2 separate regions of the Homo sapiens genome follow, and region 1 is linked to region 2. The links are contacts of gene promoters, found by promoter capture Hi-C in human tissues and cell types (Jung and others, 2019). All regions are on one chromosome and are shown on one strand. The core of a region is centred on a gene start or on the middle of the fragment in contact, and the rest is flanking DNA. Distances in the headings are between cores, read along the strand shown.

Region 1 (4,588 bases), core at 134-2,633, 300 kb before region 2:
CCCTGGTTCTGAGGAACTTTCAGGGTAAACAAAGAGGGAGAAGTGAAAATTACCTGTCAAGAATGGGTGTATAGAAGCCTAGAGAACATGAAGATTGAACAGTTAGTACCTGATGAATCAAAATTCCAGAGATGCCAATAAGCAAAAGCAAAGGTACCACAGAAGAAAGCTGACAGTGATCCCCAACAAAGAATAGGGAAACCAGTAGCTGATAGGCAGAGCTTCCAGCAAGCAAGGGAGATAGAAGAATGTAAAAAACAAACAAACAAACAAACAAAACAAATTTGTTTATAATAACCTTAAATCTTAAAGAAGCCAAGTTCATAGACTGAAATCATCAGCAATCTGGCCACTTCATCATTGAATATGTTTTACTATTTAAGATTCCACCTTCTGTGGCTTTGCAGAAATATCTTTATAAAAATATAAAGAAAACAAACAAGAAAATCCATGTGAAGTCTTGGCAAGCATTCAGAAGCACCCCACACAAATGGTGTTTGCTTGCAAATCCTAAGCAATATTTCCAAGACTACCCCAAACATAGAAGATTCAATATAATTACTGTATTGATTTGGCTACAATAAGGACAGAGCTGTCAATTATTCTGGATTTTTCATTTTGGTCTTATTTCAGCACTCTCTTTAGTTGGCCACTTGACTGAATGTACAGCCAGACACTTACTAGCCAACCTTCTCTTGTAGGTGCAGACGACAACCATGTGCATCTCTGTCAGCCTGAGTGGCTTTGTGGTCTTGGGCTGTTTGTTTGCACCCAAGGTTCACATCATCCTGTTTCAACCCCAGAAGAATGTTGTCACACACAGACTGCACCTCAACAGGTTCAGTGTCAGTGGAACTGGGACCACATACTCTCAGTGTAAGTATGGAACTCAGCACTAACTCCTTCATACATAGCATTGTAGTCAGGACCAGCCTGCCAAGAACAGGCAACACATGTCTGTCCCCATGAACAATCTCAATTCGATTTTACTAAGTATGGATTTAAACACTGTGAGTCAGGTATTGTGCTAAGTGCTGGGGATTCAGTAAGGAGCAAAGAAGTCAAAGTTTCTGTTTGGGCAGCACATACAGTCTAGCAGGGAACAAAGACATTAAATACATAGCTGCAGTGAGGGGTTTGACCATGTTGTGGGGTTAGATAACCTGGTCTCTCGTCCTGTTCTGCACTCAATTTAATAGATAACTTCAAACAAGTCACTCTATTGCTTTCTGCCTCATTTTACTAATTAAAATAGGGGACTGGGCTAGATTGGTGTTTTATAAAATATATTATATGTCACACAGATGCCAAAGGAGCTTCATGAAAAATTAAAAGGGGAAGATAATAAAATACAATGAAAAGTGCTACATTCCTAATTCCCCCTTGGAAGTTTACAGTACTTCCTTTAACATGAGTGTGTTATAGGTTTTGAGAATCTCTATGCAAGAAAACCTGTTTAACTTTGTTAAAAGTTAAAATACTTTTAAAAATATTTTATCACAGTAAAACTAACATCCCGTGGAACACACCTTGGAAAATGCTGGAATAGATCTTCCTCCTACTTCAATGACACAATGTTTTCTCAGCTTAGAAGGCAGTGTGAACTGAAGGATACTAGGATAGTTCCCAGTCCCTAATTCTCTCTGCTACTGGCCTGCAAATGTCTGAAACACTATCCTTAGAGAATCATTGATTTAATTCTTTAGAGTTCTCTAAAGCACAAATGTGCCTGAAGGGGATAACCTTTTAAGCCATTTTCAGCTAAATTGTGGTATGAAGTAGAAGCAATTCACTGACACTGGATGAGGGGGAAGAAAAGAACTGGAACCATGAGAGGGGAAGGGAGGACAGAAAGTGACAGAGACAAATGACTGCTTCACAATTTTGCCTCGAGTTGATCAGAAAGGATACTTCAAAATAGCTCAGCATCACAGGGTCAGCAATCACATTAGCGCCCCAATTTCTCTACCAAAGTACAGAATTTAACAGGGCAGCCCTTCCCCCAGGAAACTGAAGGAAGACTGACAGTCTGAGAGCACATGTTCATGGATAGGCTGCACATTCCTGTCTTTCCAGCTAAACTCCAACGTGTCACAAAAGTTGAGCTTCAGGGCATGGCAAAGCCTGTGAGGTCGTTTTCCATGGATCTTAGAGAAATATGTTGATTTCTTGAGCAAACAAAGCTCTTTTTAGCAGACTAATCTTAACAGCTACCTAGTCCAGCCCAGAGAGAACTGTCAATAACTAATAAAAATATTAACAACAGGTAACAGGAACTTTCATTTGTTGAGTGTTTTTCATATGCTGGGCACCATGCTAAATACTTTACACACATGTGTGTATGTGTGTGCTGTCTTATTCAATGCTCCAACCCCTTAAGGTAAAGAAACTCACCCAGGGTCACACACTTTAAAAATGGCAGAAACAGAATTTAGAGTCAGTTCCTATGATTTCAAAGCCAGTGCACCTAACTACTGTATCGTGCAGCCTCTTCCAGACAGCAAGCTGGGAAAGTTCTCATGGCCAGGCTTTGCAGAGAGAATAAAAAGAAGGTTATCCAAGCAAAATTGTCTCATTGCTAGCTCAGAACTTTTGCTTGTTATTAGAACAATTTAGCAGAGTCCATAAGTCTTCCATAGACGTTATTCAAAATTGCGTATATCCAGACCTCAGTAATTTAGAAATGGCAGAATTTTCTAATGCATATGCTGGGAATTAACAAATTCCAGAAGGGATAGCAAGGGCACTTTCTCCAATCAAGTCTCTTGTTAGAAATTCAGAAATATCCATCTACATAAAAACAATGTACTGCAACCACAGCAGACCTGTTAAACTATTATTCAGTATGCTAATCTGATAGTGACCCAATTAGTACTTCAAGACAGGTGTTTGAACATTGTTGGAATGTCTTGTTAATAAAATTATAAATAAACTTTTTTTTAAAAAAGGTCTAAATTCAGACCTCATTGTTTCAGCAATATTTCCCTAATCAATACAAATCAATGAAGTAGTACCATGTAACAAAGTGAAGATTTTATATAACATCTCTTGGCATTTTAACGTGCATAAGTAACAAATACATTCACCTGTTATTTGCATTTTTACTCTTTTATTCAAAGTAGTTTTATATTCATGAACTCATTTTATCCTCATGAGTACCAGATATCACAAGTTCTATTTTATAGGTAAGAAAATTGAGAATTGAAGTTACTTCTCAAGGATATACAGTGATACAAGAGTCAAGAGTTGAGCCTGATTTCCTGACTTTCAATTAAAAACTTTCCCATTTTAATAAGTTGGAAGTATTTCATATCAAGAAATTTATTCATTCATTAAATTATTGAGTACCTACTACACACCAAAAATTTCTAAGCACTGTGTACACAGTAACGAATAGGACGGAATCCCTGGCCCCATGAAGCTTGGTGTCTAGGACAGTGGTTTTCATACTGTAGACTGTAAGCCATTATTGGGTCATGAAATTTAGTATCTTTGGCCAGTGCTTTTTAAAAGAAAAAAACAGAAAATCTTAAGAGTGCATTACATGTAATAAAGGTAAGGCATAAAAGGTAAGTCATGAAGAGTTATATGTATATGTATACCAGGTCCGGGTAAAATGTATTTATTTCTATAGATCACAATCAAAGATGTTTAAAGGCCAGTGGTCTATGGAATTGAGTTCTGTGTATGAACATGTTACTGACCCACTTTGGTAGAATTGAAGCAATTATTTAATATCTTAGTGTCTGTTTCCTCTATTGTATATTCAGCTCAATTTATATCCATTTCCCTCCTAAATACTTGGAAGTATGTTGCTTTAGAAATCAAGAACATTCCTTAAACTGCTCTGCGTTCATTAGATAAAGCATATGTTTTTCTTGGGTTGTACATAATTCACGTTCTTCCAGTGAGTATAATGTTAGCACTTTATTTCATTGGGCGATTGTTAATATTGCTGCTGGTTTTCTGACTTTCTCTTCAGAGGTAAAACAAAACCCACTGTAGAGATGAGAGTAAGCTAATATGGAAACAGAGTTATCGCGTTTCCTCCACTTTATCTATTCCTGCATAACAAACTTCTCCATAACTTAAAGGCTTAAAACAATACCTCTTTATATGATTATCTCTTACAGTTTACAAGTCAGGAATTCAGACAGGGCTTGGTTCATCTGCTCCATGAGGCTGACGTTCTTTCATGGTTTTAAGCAGAGACTGAGCTGATCTGGAAGATCCATGATGCTTTCACTCTTATTCCTGGCATCTTGGCAGGAAGCCTGTCCATGTTGGCTCCTAATGAGCAAGTTCCATAAAAAAAGGAAGTAGAAACTGGCTTGGCCAGGAAACTGGTATAGCATAATTGGTACCATACTTATTTATCGAAGCTCAGATTCAATGGGAAGTGCATAGACCCCACCTCTCAAAGAGTCTGTGATTATTATAATTATGCCACACTTTCCAAATCGCCAATTAATCCATTACTGCATCTTATCAAGAATTACAGTGACTTGACACAATCTCGTATAATACCAAGAAGTCACCCCAACTGGAAAGTACAGCCATATCAATTCCAAGTTAATTCTCTGTCAAG
Region 2 (5,132 bases), core at 786-3,285:
ATTTTAACTAGCAAATGCAGTAAATACCATAGCTAAGCTATAAATACTTTAATAATTATTGTTTAGGATAGAAATACTTCTAATGATTTTTCTACAAAACATTTAATTCCTAAATAGGTAAATCCTTGGATAATATTTAAAACCTCATCCATTCCCTAGGTACACATTGACTAAATAATGAGGTACGGATAACATAGAAGTATAACTGCAGAAAATTGCTCTAGGAATCAAGTTGTGTTATGGATAGTCTTTACATTGATTATTCAAGCTAAAGGGATAGAGACGTTATTATATTTTTTTAAATTATGCATTAAGCTAATATTAAAATACATTTGTCATCCCCAAATAAATACCAATTGACTTGGGAAAAGGTAGTTATAAAAGAAACTCAACCAGAAAGGGAGAATTTAGTTATGAGGATGCACTTGACTTTTTGCGGGGAGTTAGCAGCGTGCAGGCTGACCTAAAATTTAGCAGAGGAGAATGGATAGCCCGACTATAATTTATATATCACTATTTTGTGCCTTAGCAAAAATAATCCTATATGGTTATGTCTTATGAAAAATATGGCTCATTAGGAACCACCTTATCAATGTTAATGTCAACAATTTTGCATATGTAATTATTATTTTATTAGAACTGCTCTTTGAGTAGTTGTATTGCTTTCCTGGCTTTAAGGTTTATTAGTTACCATTTTTAATGCTTAATACACGTCAGATTCCATGCAAACTACGCTGTCTACAATATTCTGGAAGGTACATCTTATTACTCCTAAAGTAAACAAAGCTAAAAGAGGTGAAGTGCCATATCCACTACTAAGAAATGGAGCCAAGATTCACACTCAGGTCTGACTGCCTGAGTCCATACCACGATACTATTCTGCCTCATAGTTTTGCTTACATAAACATTATTATGTACTTATTAAAAAATGGAATGATACACGGCTTAACTCCAACAGAATGCAGAGTGCCACAAATTAGTAATAAAGTTATCAACACAAGAAAATGCTGCTTCTGAGATTTATTTTTGAAAATTAGTCAAACATGTCGATCCTCCAGTAAAGCAAAGCATTTGTAAACTGGTTGTAATCATTTGTTTTCGTTATGAAAGTACTGCCAAAGTGTATTTTGTGAACTGCAACCGGGTAGTTCAGAACACAGGCTTTGGAGCTGAGGCTTCAATTCTAATTCCACCGCCAACTTGGGAGCCCTTGGACACATTCCTTCACTTCTCTTTGGTTCCTGTGTAAAATGGGATTCATTTGTAATAATTGTAGCGATGCACTTAGAACTTATGAACATTAAATGAGTTTAATATACGTAAAACATTTACCTGTCACATACGCACTCAAAGAATGCTGGCTCACATTACAGAACCCAAAGGCTTATTTATCCTTTTCGTTTATAAGGGTATTAAAACGCGTTTTCTATTTAGGATGGGTTTATACGGCTGCAACCCAAGGAGCATCTGTACTTTTAAGAGGAACTGGGCACAGCAAAACAGCATCTTCCTAGTCTAACAGTGAGACTACATTCACAGAGGACACATTTCATCAAGAACGACTTAACACGCCCAGATATCTCATATTATGCCCCTGCGGTAAGGCAAATCAAGTATGAAGACACACACTCCCTGTTTTCTTCAGCACTGAGATCACTGGTTCCCTCCGTTCCACACCGCGGCTCCCTCGGCTCGGAGCCACAGGGAACTATGAAAATCGGCACGCGAGGCCTAAGTGTCCCCAGAACCAGAGGAACCACAGTTGCGTCATAGCAGAAGGACCTCTTTTACAGCATCAGCAGTGGGATAGTCAGTGCCGAGTTTTCCTGGCAGGACAGCCGACAACCACCGCCACAGACCAGTACAAACATTCCAACCCAGGACCTTTTTTCGCGCGCCGACACAGCCGGAAGTGACGCGTACAGCCAGCACGCTGGGCCGCCAGCGGGACAGACGAGCGGGAGGGGCAGCGTGCGGGGAGCTGGGGGCGGGGCGCGGCCGCAGCTCCGTTTCCGGTGGCTCGTCGCGCTCGCTCACTCCAGCTGCAGCCACTCTCGCCCGTGGCTGCTTCCTCCATCCTGGTATTTTTTGGAGCTTCCATCCTGGTTCTTCCAAAGTGCCCGGACCCAAAACAGGAAGTAAGTGCGATGGAACCTTCAGGTTCCAACCGCCGCCAGGGCCGCTCCGCCCAGTGGAGCCTGTCCGGCCCCCTTGCTGCCCGCTAGCTCCCGCCGGCTGGCGCAAGCTGTCGGCGCCGGGGCACTGCGGGCGGGGTCGGAGCCTGGCCTTCCTGACGTTGCAGCTGCCGTCCCCGCACGTTCCGGCCAGGGCCTCCCTCTTAGGGCCGGGCGGTGCCCGTGGCTCAGGCTGCAGAGTAGGGAAGCGAGCGGCTGCCGAGGCACAGCGGCGATCCGGCGGGGGCGGAAAATGGCGGCGGCTTCGGAGGAGCTAAATGGCGCCGGGACCCCTGGGGGGTGGGGTGGGCCGGGAGGTTGAGTAGAGAACTGGGCCAGAAGGAGTGGAGACAGTAAGGAAGCCCTACTTGTTTTCTCGTGGTGTTCTATTTTTAGTTTTTATTTTTGTTACGTTTTCGGTTTTGTTTTATGGTCCAGCGTAGGAGAGGTAGGCTTGGGTGGGGTCGAGAGAGTGGGGGTGGGTCTCGACCCAACTTCCCCCCCTTTGCTTTTTTGTTCTTTTCCCTCGTTTGCGCTTTAGATTCTTCTGTAATTTTGCGGGGGTTCAGCCTTGCTCGGCGATTCACGGCCCAGACATAGAGAATCGGGATAGCTGGCCGAACCGTCTCTCTCAGTCTGACTCTCTTTAAAGAAGGGATGTGGGCTGGGGCGCGGGGACAGTCCTGGTGGAGCACGGAAAATGCGGCTGTAAAGTTGTAATTACCCTATTGTGCCGAGTTCCGAGAAAGTTCTTAAAATTGTTAAGTCCACTTTGTTCTCTAAAATGTACTTCGCTTTGAGAATTTCTTCAGGGAGGTATGTAGAATGTTTTACCACAATCTCCAGAGCAGATTTGAGAGTAGAAGTGGCCAAGTGCCCTTTTGTGCAATTGAATGATAGAGCATATGTCTTTATATAAAATACTCGGTGTAGATAAGGAAAAGGATAATAGTATACAGTATGAGTCAGGACTCCTCCCTTTCTCTCATTGAATTTGTGTAGTTGCTTTTTTCGCAACTCATTCATCTTTGTGTACCTCTTTTTAATGTACATGGATTTGATTATGTGTGCCTCCTTTCTGACAGTCGAGGCTGCATGTTGGGACGTCCTACAAAATGCATATTCTGTGGAATTATTTTTTAATATGACATGTCTTAAGCTTAAAGTGACGCCATTTGGAAAATTTTAAATTATACCTGTATTTTTAATTCGTGGGAGAAAACCATTTGTAGCTTTTAAGCTCCAAATACGAAAATATTCTTCCACTATGTTGAAAGTATTGCAAAATCTGTTTTTTTCAGTTAAGGGTTTTCATGTTTTTTCATTACTTCAAATTTCTTTAAGCTGGTTTTGAAATTATATTTCAAATAGCTTTCTGAGGATTACTGTCTTTTAATAACTTGAATAATTTGCCATCACTTTAACATTTAAAGAATGACTATGGCGATACACCAAAATCTTATCTTTTTGCTCTTATGGTGTACTTAGAGACAGGATTTCATGTATTTGGTTAGGATTTAGAAATTCTGTTAAGATTTAGAGAAAAAAGGTTAAAGCTACATTCCTTAACGTTACAAAAATTGTCATGCTGAGAGAATCCAATTTGGTGTGAGAATAATTTTTTTCTTCCATACAGAAAGCACAAAAACCAGCCTGATTGTATCTGGAAAAAACCATTATGTTACAGGTGTGAAAAATACATTTCATGATTGTGGTGATTTTTATCTCATTTTAACTCTCGATACTAGGTGCTTCTGTATGCCACCAAACAAGCTAATTTTTTTTCTTACTATTTTAGTTGATAGGCTCACCCCAAAATATGCTTTTGGGGACTGATTTAGCACCTGCATATTCTGCGTGAATCTCTTTAATTGGTTGCAGTTGAGCTAATGGTGGAGCCAAAATGCTATTGCCCTGTCTTCATCAACATTTAATCAGTAAGTACTGGGCATTGCATCTTTCTTAGAACTTTAAGTTCATACGTTGCAGTTATATGAATACATTATTTTATGTAAACATTTTTCTGAGTGTTCAGGTTTTAGAAGTATTTTGAGGGGAAGAAATCAAAGTTTGGGCGTTATGACTTGAGCTTTGAAAACAGCATGGTTGGGAAATGTTTACTGGTGGAGACTCATATCAAAAGTAGATAGCTGTCCTCTAGTCCTTTTTTTAGAGATCTCTTTTTTCAATCCTTTAGTTATCTCATTACACCCCAGGGGTGCTTTAAAGGTGGGGAGATAGTGTATGTATTTTATAAGGTTAGTTTGATATCACTGGTTAGTATTTAAATAACAACAAAAAACTTGCCTTTACCTCCTCCGCAAAAAATCTTACCTTTCTATTAGCCTCATTTATCTCTCCAAAATCTACAGACTCTAATTTTTATTAATGGTGTAATAAACTTACATGTCCTGAAAATAACATCTCATTATTTTAAACAGTTGCCTTTGCCATGCTTCATTAAGTGCATTGGCTTAAATTAACACCTGTGAGGATGAATGGGATAATGTGAAACAAGTATTCCTAAGGATTTACTGCCTGGCACATAGATGTTAAAATATTGAGGGAGCTTAGAAGTGTTTTTGAAAGTATTGACGTCTTGCATCACTTGTATTAAACACACATCTGTCTGTTGCAAAGACATCAAAAGCTTAGAAAGGAACAAAGTTTAAGGAGGGTTCATTCTACTTTTTTTTATATCTTATGTAGAGACTGCATATTTAACACTGAGGTGGTGTTCTGCCTTTCCAAAATGGAGTTTTCCATTTTAATAGTCCATTTTTTTTCTTACCACCATCATATTTTTCCTATATGAAAGGATTTCCTAGGAATTGATATACTTTTAAATGCTTTGCAATTGCAGCTCCTTTATGTCTCCAAATGATACAAGAAGACCCGAGAAAGTGGTAAACTAAATGATTTTTATTAAAGTAATTGCCAAATATTAAAGATAAAATA

Evidence for each region. The method cuts DNA at HindIII sites, captures the fragments that hold promoters and counts their contacts. A contact is called where the count stands out against the background at its distance.
Region 1: a contact is called between a fragment that was not itself captured here and the fragment with the promoter of DMTF1 in region 2, in 1 of the 25 tissues and cell types used here (dorsolateral prefrontal cortex).

The regions. Positions count from the first base shown.
Region 1 is chr7:86,849,669-86,854,256 of GRCh38, forward strand. GRM3 (glutamate metabotropic receptor 3) reads left to right here. Exons shown (of 6, transcript NM_000840.3): 5 at 702-876. Among named protein-coding and RNA genes, the nearest start is that of GRM3-AS1, 49 kb to the left of the region's middle. The HindIII fragment of the contact is 6,842 bases long and covers 1-4,588 here.
Region 2 is chr7:87,150,418-87,155,549 of GRCh38, forward strand. DMTF1 (cyclin D binding myb like transcription factor 1) reads left to right here and starts at 2,036. Exons shown (of 18, transcript NM_001142327.2): 1 at 2,036-2,138. DMTF1-AS1 (DMTF1 antisense RNA 1) reads right to left here and starts at 2,076. Exons shown (of 2, transcript NR_136253.1): 1 at 1,885-2,076; 2 at 1,006-1,241. RefSeq lists enhancers at 1,106-1,669, 1,585-1,824, 1,670-2,231. The HindIII fragment of the contact is 5,091 bases long and covers 1-4,078 here.